Regions from separate parts of the Homo sapiens genome. Here region 1 is linked to region 2. The links are contacts of gene promoters, found by promoter capture Hi-C in blood cells and fetal thymus (Javierre and others, 2016). All regions are on one chromosome and are shown on one strand. The core of a region is centred on a gene start or on the middle of the fragment in contact, and the rest is flanking DNA. Distances in the headings are between cores, read along the strand shown. Region 1 has its middle 71 kb from the start of HMG20A. Region 2 holds the start of RCN2 (reticulocalbin 2).

Region 1 (4,842 bases), core at 780-3,279, 560 kb before region 2:
GAAATCTCATGTGGCAGACTCATGTAAGTTTAAATATTCTGAACATCTTTACAGGTACTGACTGATTTAAGCCAATGGAAAAGTCTCACTTGGGTCCAGATGTTGTTCTGATGTCAAGGGCAGGATGAAAGAATAGTGAAAGTTAGCAGTAGGGGCCGGGTATGGTGACTCATGCCTGTAATCCCAGCACTTTGGGAAGTTGAGGTAGGTGGATTGCTTGAGCCTAGGAGTTTGAGACCAGACTGGACAACATAGTGAGACCCCCATCTCTATAAAACATGGAAAAATTAGCCAGGCATGGTAGTGCACATCTGTAGTCCTAACTACTTGGGAGACTGAGGTGGGAAGATCTCTTGAGCCCAGGAGTTCAAGGCTCTAGTGAGCTATGATCACACCACTGCATACCAGCCTGGGCAACAAAAGAAGACCCTGTCTCAACAACAACAAAAAAAGTTAACATTAGGGCAAAGAATAAAACAGTGAAATCTTTAGCCAGGGGTGGCTGCAGTTGGTAGGGTTTGACTATCTGCCTTCAGAGCAGTGCCAGGATCTGGGAGAAAAGTTCTAATAAAAAAAGTCTCCTTGGAAGTCTTTGGTAAAAGTCATTCCAAGTCCAGGCCCGCCTTTTAAGCTCTAGAATTGTCAATATAAATGCTTACTTAACACCTACATCTGCTGACTTAACACTTGCATCTCAAATAAACATTCCCACAAGGCTGTCTGATTTCCAGCCATTCCCCTGCCCCAGTCTGCTCCTCTTCTAGTCGTTGTCTCTGTAACTGGTATCTGGACCATCCATGTGAAGCACAAGATCACTGTAGGTGCTCTCTCCCTCCTGCCTCCCTCTCATCCGTCACTCATCTTGTTCCTTCCACCACCAAAATGGCTGTATTCCATCCTCTTCCCCACATCATTCTTCACTGCTACACCCTTAGTCCATAATACCACCACCTCTGGAGGGATTATAGCCACAGCCACAATTTAGCTCCCTATTTCAATGCTTCACAGAGTAGTCAGAATAAGTTTTTAAAACCACAAACTAGATGATGTCACTTCCCTTTCTGAAACCTTCAGTGACTTCCCCCTGCACTGAGGAGACTATCCCAGATCCTTGGGCTGGTGATAAGACCGCACATGGCCTCTCTCCTATCTCTTGCTGTTTTTCCCCTACATTTCCCTGCTCCAGGTCCCTGGTTTTCTTTCAGCTCCTCTAAATCCCCAATGAAAGCTGGTTTTTGTGCTCTTTTCCTGACTCTCCCTAAGTCCTACTGGTTTTTCATTTTAAGTGTCACTTCCTTGAAGGGGCCTTCCTTGACCCCACCATCGAAAAAAGTTGCCCACTCCCTGCCAATATGCTGACACACGCTACTACTACTCTTTTCCTGCATTTGATACCACATGGCAACATCACATCTACTTAAGTTTGTTTAATCACGTTTCTTCCACTAGATACTAGGCTCCATGAAAGCAAGAATTGTTACCTGTTTTGCTATATTCCTATTGCCTGCTCCAGAGGGTAATGCATATTAGTTGAACCAAGTAATGAAAGTAGACTGCATATGGAGAGCTGCCTAAAGGGTATTTACACTGCCTTCCTGGTGAACCCGCCCCACCAGACCACAGTTACCCAAAATTCCTCCTTGAAGAATTCCTCACTGAGCTTTGGGAGGAACCAAGTCAAACTCCCAAATGTCTCTAATCTCCTCTGCTCCTTTACTCCATCCCCACTGCATGCTCTTCTTCTTCCTCTTCTTTATTTATTTATTTTCCTTGGAGACAGAGTCTTGCTCTGTCACCCAAGCTGGAGTGCAATGGTATGAACATGGCTCACTGCAGCCACGACTTCCCGGGCTCCAGCAATCCTCCCACCTCAGCCCCCCAAGTATCTTGGAGCCCCATCATGCCTGGCTAATTAAAAATTTTTTTTTTATAGAGATGAGATCTCACCATGTTTCCCAGTCTGGTCTTGAACTTGTGAGCTCATGCAATCCTCCTGCCTCAGCCTCCCAAAAGGTGTGAGCCACCATACCCAGCCCCCGACTGCATGCTCTTCTTACCTTCCATCCTGGCTATTTTAACAGTCTCCTAACCAGTCTATCTCCATACTGCCTTGAATTCAAGAGTATTTATGCTAAGGACCACAATAATGGATGGGGGGAAATTACATTTTGATTTTCACAAACCTCTAATTGAAAATTTGCATTTCTTTTGATTATAAACATTGGCAACAAGCCCCAGTAGTATTGGCAGGACCTGTGACTTTGCCACCAACAAGATCACAGATATTTTCATACTATATTATAGACATTGCAGATGTTGAAATATTATTTATGGTCACTACTACTTTAAAATTATGGTCATTATTAGAACTAGATCATGTTATTTAATGCTTTATCAAGAAGCACAGGTATTCCTACATAACACATTGTTAATATTTTGTTAGCTATATTTTAATATAGTGGATTTCCTTTGTAATTTTATTTGTATTTTATGCACTTAGAAAACATTCCTAGAAGGGTCCATAGACTTTACCAGATTGCCAAAGCAGCTCGTGGCAGAAAAATGGTTGAGAGGCTGTGGTGTAGTTTTCCTTATGTCACTGCCTTGCAAAAACAGCCTTGAGGCCTTCCCTCTGCCTGCAAAACAAAAGCTAAAACCCTTGGCTTGACATTCAAGGCCCATTTACAATCCATTTTCAGAACACCTCACTATCTTTCTTTTTGGTCAGTGCCCTGGATATAACCTGTGTTCCAGTCACGCTGAATTACTTGAGTACACCAAAAATGTACTTCTATCTCTAGGTCTATTTCTAGCTTATCTTAAGGAACTACTCTTTTTCTAAGGCCCAGCTCAAAATGTTATCCTGGTAAAGCTCTTTTGCCTTCCCCCAAGCAAAACCACTGAATTTTTCCTTTGTGTTTTCCAGAATACTGCGCTCACAGCCGTTTGATCATTTATCAGACCCTATTGTAGTTAGCTTTTGTATCTATTTTTTGTTACATTGTGGGCTTCCAGTGGAGAGGGACTTCCTCAACTTTACACCCAAAACACATAGTGAGTACTTGGAAATGCTTGAAAAAATGAATGTATCTAAAATACTCATTCTTCTGAGGGATGAATAAAATCCATAATTACTATATTAGTTTGTCCTTTAAACCAAGAAATTCTTTTGATAAATATAACATAAGTCTACTTCAAAAATCCACCGGCCCCAAGAAAAATAGGTTGTTGTCTTACATTCCAGTGCCTGGACCCAGCTGCCTTCAGTTGACTTCTATCCTTGAAGATAGCAAAAGCACCCCTCACAGGAGCCCATTTGCTGAGTCTTTAAACCTTCTGACTGTATCAGTGATGTCTTCTCACATTACCCTTCTTTGAATGATGCCAAATATATTTTTGACCAGTCTCTTTTAAGCAGACGCTTTCCATTTCTTGCCCCAGGATTTTCTAATGGTCAGGTTATGGCATGATTTTTATATCCTAGAACATTCAGCTGCTTTATGTCAATCTTAAACAAATGCAGATGCAAGTTTTAAAAATTCTTTTCCTAAGAAGCGTCAAGAATTAAAAAGGAGACCATTCCTTAATTTCACAGTTCAACGCACAACGTAACTGGATCTACATGTGTGCACATGCGCTGAGGATAGAAGGAATGTTAGCAAACACTGACCTGAACTTAGAATCTCAAGGAACCACAGACTTTTAGGAACTGAAAGGAACTTTTTAACTGATAGCAGGGAGATGTGTGTCTTGCCCAGGGGCTCATCTGTTGTTGGGACTTCAAGTTTAGCCAGTCAAAAACAAATCCTTGATTTTTCTTCCGTGATGTTTCATACTTAAGTCTGCAATCTCAGGCCATGGCACCTCTCTCCATTACCCAGTTTTCCAAGCCAAAAAAACTGAGTCATTCTTCTTCTTTTTCTTATAGAGATGGGGTTTCACCACGTTGCCCAGGTTGGTCTTGAACTCCTGGGCTCAAGAAATCTACCCGCCTTGGCCTCCCAAAGTACTGGGATTACACGCGTAAGCCACTGTGCCCAGGAAAAACTGAGTCATTCTTCTTTTTCTTTCATTCTCCACATCCCACTCCTCAGCAATTCCTGTCCATTATACTCCCAAACTATATCCTGAATTAATCTGCCTTTTCCCACCACTCTAGGCTAAGCCACTGTCATTTCTCACTTGGGTTCCTATGCCAGCCTTCTCCTAGTCTCTCTGATTCTTCTCTTGCCCACCCCACAATTCTCTATACAGCAGCCAGAGTGACCCTTTATTTTATTTTACTTTTTATTTTTTGAGACAGAGTCTTGCTCTGTTACTCAGGCTGGAGTGCAGTGGCACAATCTTGGCTCACTGCAACCCCCACCTCCTGGGTTCAAGGGATTCTCATGCCTCAGACTCCTGAGTAGCTGGGATTACAGATGCGCGCCACCACGTCCAGCTAATTTTGTTTTGTATTTTTAGTAGAAAAATACAAACATGGTTTCACCATGTTGGCCAGGCTGGTCTCCAACTCCTGGCCTCAAGTGGTCTGCCCACTCCCACCTCTCAAAGTGCTGGGATTACAGGCATGAGCCACCACGCCCGGCCTAGAGTGACCCTTTAAAAACAGAAATCAGATCTTGTCACTCAGTTGTGTAGAACTCTCTTCACATTACACTTATGACAAACTGCAAACTCTTTACGACACTTCTGAGGATCTACATGATCTTGCTATTGCCTGCCTTGCAACTTCAAAGCCACTCTGCCTCTCGTTTACTCTGCTCCAGCCTCACCAGCTTTTTCTATGCCTTGAAATTCCAGAGTTCATTCCTGCCTCAGGATTTCAGCCTTTGTATACCC
Region 2 (4,513 bases), core at 1,877-4,376:
ATGTTATCCAAAATCTTGCAGAAAACCTTTGCTAACTACCACAGATCTCTCAGGAAGCATAAATATTTTGATAGCTATTTATTTTAGTATGTATGAGAAAAAACAGTGTTTTTTATTTATGAAGGTGACATAAAGTCTTCCTTTAAAATAAATTTTATGTGAGTTGAATTAAAACTATAGTAAGAAAATAATAGATGGTTAAGTAGATATGGCCTAAATTCTGAAAAGGTATTCAAGTGACTGAGAATACTGCTTCAGTATATTACCTTTAAATATGTTGTTAAAACATCTGGAGTAAATTTTAACGAAGTTATGGGTAGCAATTTATGCCCTTCCTGCAACAGCTATCTGTCTTAACTTGGTACCTGAAGGCATGGGAAAGTTTCTAAAATTCAAATGTTCACTTTTCAATCAACTTTTAAAAAATCTATTTGGCTGGGCTCAGTGGCTCACGCCTGTAATCCCAGCACTTTGGGAGGCTGAGGCAGGCGGATCACCTAAGGTCAGGATTTCGAGACCAGCCTGGTCTCGGGTAAAACCCCGTCTCTACTAAAAATACAAAAATTAGCCGGGCATGGTGGCCAGTGCCTGTAATCCCAGCTACTTGGGAGGCTGAGACAGAAGAATCACTTGAACCTGGGTGGCAGAGGCTGTAGTGAGCCAAGATCACACTACTGCACGCCAACATGGGTGACAAGAGCGAGACTCTGCCTCAAAAAAAAAAACAAAAAACTATTCATAAAAATATTTACTAAACTACGTTAAAGGAAACAAAGGGAGGGACGAACACGAATATTTGTGAGGACAGCATGAGTATACCATTTATCAGGTTCCTCTGTACATGTTGCCTCTAATCTTCAAAACAATGCAATTATAATCATCACTATTATACAGGTGAGGAAACTGAGGTTCAGAAAAGTCCAAGCCTTCACAACTAGTAAATAGCAGAGTCCAGATTCAAACCTGTCTGGCTTCAAAGCCAACTCCTACTGAGTTTTGCTACCTCTTAACATCTGATTCCAGACCTGGCCCTCAAAGAGCAAATTGCCAAAATTATCTTAAGGGTCCTCAAGTAGAATGAAGGCTTTCGTAAGCACCATGAATCTTTCTTCTAGTTTATTTAAAGAGATCACCATGGCATAGAAGAAAACAGAATGGAACAGGGATCAGAAATGTGGGTTCACACTTCAGCTTTGCCATCAGGGGGTAGTTTACCATCTCAAGCTTTTCTTCTCATCTGTATAATGAATATTTGGACTAAAACTTTTCTAAGTTTAAACTTCTTAAAACCTTACTATTAAATATTTGAACATATCTAGGTCTTGACAGATAGGTACCACGCAGTCTTCCAAATCAACGTGTTGTGTTCTTTGATTACTCTAGTATAACCAAAGATTGACTTATTCTTAGATTGGATAATCAGAGACCAAAGGTCTTGTTATTATTGTCTAACTAAGTGGAAGAAAAAAGCCCTTAATCTTCCAGAGGGTTCCAATGTGAATATGTCATTGACAGCACATCTTAAATTTACCAGTTTTTAATTGTCTCCAGCAACTTAATTCCTTGATGGTGAACAGCATTTAAATGAGAGTTACAGAAAAACAGCTAACTTAAGAGTCACAATAACAACCTGAATTTTTCTGAGGACCCACTTGGAACGCTGACAGGGAACATCATTTGAATTGAACAATGGGGAGAGACAACTGCACAGCAATTTATTTAGAACATTCTTTTAATAGTCTGTGCATTTCATTTCTGACTAGAGAATTTACCTGAGAGCATCAGATTTTTTTTTTTAACTGAAGGATATTAAAACCTGAATTAAGAGCAGGATACCTGGATTCTAGTCCAGCTTTGCCACTTATTTGTAGAAGGCACTTATCCCTGTGCTTCATTTCTTCATCTCTACAAAGTGATGTGGACAAGATGATCCCAAGGCCCCTACCAGCTCTAACATTTTGGTATAATGTTATAATAAACGTAATTCACAGGCAACAGGTCTTTTTCTACTTGCTTAAAAAAAGAAGCAAATTCCTAAAATTTAAATGAAGCATATATCAAAAGAGCGATAAATCATTTACTGCCTTAAAGTTTTGGGGCATATTTCTCTAAAATAAATCATATTGTTGACACTAACAAAAGTCACGTGAGAAAGAGGGTGTCTCAAGGTGTGACTTCCACATAGAGTACAGGGTCAATGATGTTTATATATAACTGGAGAAAGCACCGAGTTTTACTTGGTTCTCAGTGTCTAAAGATTTGTAAGTATAAAGCCTATTCTCCATGTCCTTTTCTCCTTCTCACAGGACTTCCAACTTGGGACACTAGCAATCTATACATTCAGCAGACACCGCTGCTTAACATATTTGTGTTTGTCTCCATTGTTAGTCGTGTAGGGCAGTCCTTACTTTCAGTGAGAAAGCCATCTGAGTCCAAGTCGATTTTCTTTATGATCGCCTGCAGTCTTTTTTGCTGCTCTTCGTGGCCGAGTTTAACATATTCATCCACATCTTCCTTTAGGGGGAAGCGACACACAGGAGGGCCAAGCATTACTATCAGTGGGGCAAAATGGTGGAGAAAAACAGGGCTACTAGAAGACCCCCTTGCCAAAGGGTTTCGGGGTGACCCGCACCTGCACTTCAAGGCCCCTACCCCCTACACACCCTCCATGATCTGAGGGGTAGAAGGGATCCAGCTCTTGGGCCGTGCTATCTCCTCAGGCTTTCCAGGCCCCAGGACCCCCAGAGAGCGAGTGCCGCGCCGCCCGGCCCCCATTGTCAGGCCGCCCCTGCCAGGCCTCGCCCGGCCGCCCCCCTTTGTCCCGGGACAAAGCCCGCGGCAGCCGCGGTGCGAGGCCCGGCCCTCCCAGCACCGGCCTGGCCGCCTCACCTGGACGCCCAGCAGCGCCTCGCGGTCGTAGTCGCTGCGGCGCTCGCCCAGCGGGTAGTGCAGCTCCTCGGCCTTGCCGGCGCCGGCCGCGGCGGCGCACAGCAGCAGCAGCCCCAACGCCGCGGTCCTCGGGCCCAGCCGCATCGCGCCGGCCCGCGGAGGACACCGAGGGACGCGAGGAGGGAGGCTGGCGGGGGCCCGGGCCGGCTGCGATGCTCCGCGGGCGGCTACAGAGAGGCGGTGCGACGTACGTTGAGGGCGGAGGGAACGGGAGGCGGAACCTGCGGTGGCGGCCACAACGCCCATGGACGGGCTGGGGGCCGGTCCACCAATGCGGTGCGGAGGCGCGCCAGGAGGAGGCCTATATGGCCGGCGCGGAGTGGCGGGGCACCAGGCCGCGCCGCTGATTGGGCAGCGCGGCGCTGGGGGCGGGCCGCCGCGATGTCGGGGTCAGCGGCCGCCCAGAGAGCTCCAGGAGCCATGCTGGGACTGCAGAGAGGGTAGACCTCTACGACCCGCGCCTTGTCGTTCCCCCGAAACGCTTCTAAAAGCACGCCCCCACCCCACTCCTGCCCACTCCTGGTCCACTCCATGTGCCCCTCCTACCGTCCATCAATGAGAGAGGCTGGAGGTTTCTGAGACAACAATACAATATCGAAAAAATTATTGCCTGAGGAATCGGCCAACAGTATTCTTTCTCAGTCTTCAATGTATCTATTTTATGAGAGTAGGACGTACAAACTCAGGAAGTGCAGCCAGATGCTTGTATCTGATGCTCAATTTCGTGATTTACAAGTTAATGTGAACTTGCTCAAATTTCTTGACCCCTGAAAACTTGTTTGCTCATCTATAAAATGAGCATAGTAATAAGACTACCTTAAAGAATTGTCGTGAAGATTAAATAATGTAATGGGTTTAGAACAATAGCTGGCACATAAGGTGAAGTGTTCAGTGAAGGTAGGCTTTCATCCATACAAGTAGAAAAACGAAAGATGATTGCACAGAAGGAATAGCTTAGTAAGTACCTAGCAAAACCTTTAGGGACAGAATGCATATACACATGGCTTCTATTCCATGTCTATTCACAGGTTTATGTAATTTCTCCACCTCAACCTGAACACATTAAACTCTAAGAAATTTGTAGGCTGCACCTTGAACCCTTTTCTTTATTGATTGCGCCACTTAGGATCAGGCCTTTCACAGAGAAGAAAAGGCTTTCTGGGTCCTCTTTCATTTCTCTCAGTCTCTATTTGGATTGGGAGCAAGAATTCTGTTCCAAACTGCAAAACTGGGTGGGCACAAGTCGCAGAAATTTCCTGGGTCGGGTTGAAATTTATGGTTTGGTCACAAACCATTGAAAGATTCACAGAGCAAAGTGTAAGTTCAATCTTTCCAATGTTATAAAGATCAACGAAGAACAAAGTTTTAAATTTCAGAATATAAATAAAAGCAAATTTTAGAGTTGATTTCATTAAACTAAAAAGAAAACCCTTTATTGCTGGATTTTAATTTTCACTTCCATTCTCGGTTTTGAGGAAAAAAAGAGAAAAATGTCCCAATTTAATATAAGAAACTCTGCTTTGTACCTGTTGTTCTCCAATAAGTAAAAGGTAAACTTTGACCA

Evidence for each region. Contacts are between HindIII fragments. The CHiCAGO score rates a contact against its expected background, and 5 or more counts as called.
Region 1: a contact is called between a fragment that was not itself captured here and the fragment with the promoter of RCN2 in region 2, in 2 of 17 cell types (monocytes and non-activated CD4 T cells). The highest score is 6.0, in monocytes.

The regions. Positions count from the first base shown.
Region 1 is chr15:77,489,742-77,494,583 of GRCh38, reverse strand. It overlaps a transcript of HMG20A not described here. Among named protein-coding and RNA genes, the nearest start is that of HMG20A, 71 kb to the right of the region's middle. The HindIII fragment of the contact is 9,764 bases long and covers 1-4,842 here.
Region 2 is chr15:76,930,362-76,934,874 of GRCh38, reverse strand. It overlaps RCN2 (reticulocalbin 2), which reads right to left and starts at 3,126. Exons shown (of 7, transcript NM_002902.3): 1 at 2,890-3,126; 2 at 2,409-2,514. The coding sequence starts at 3,033. RefSeq lists a silencer at 2,684-3,433. The HindIII fragment of the contact is 17,303 bases long and covers 1,227-4,513 here.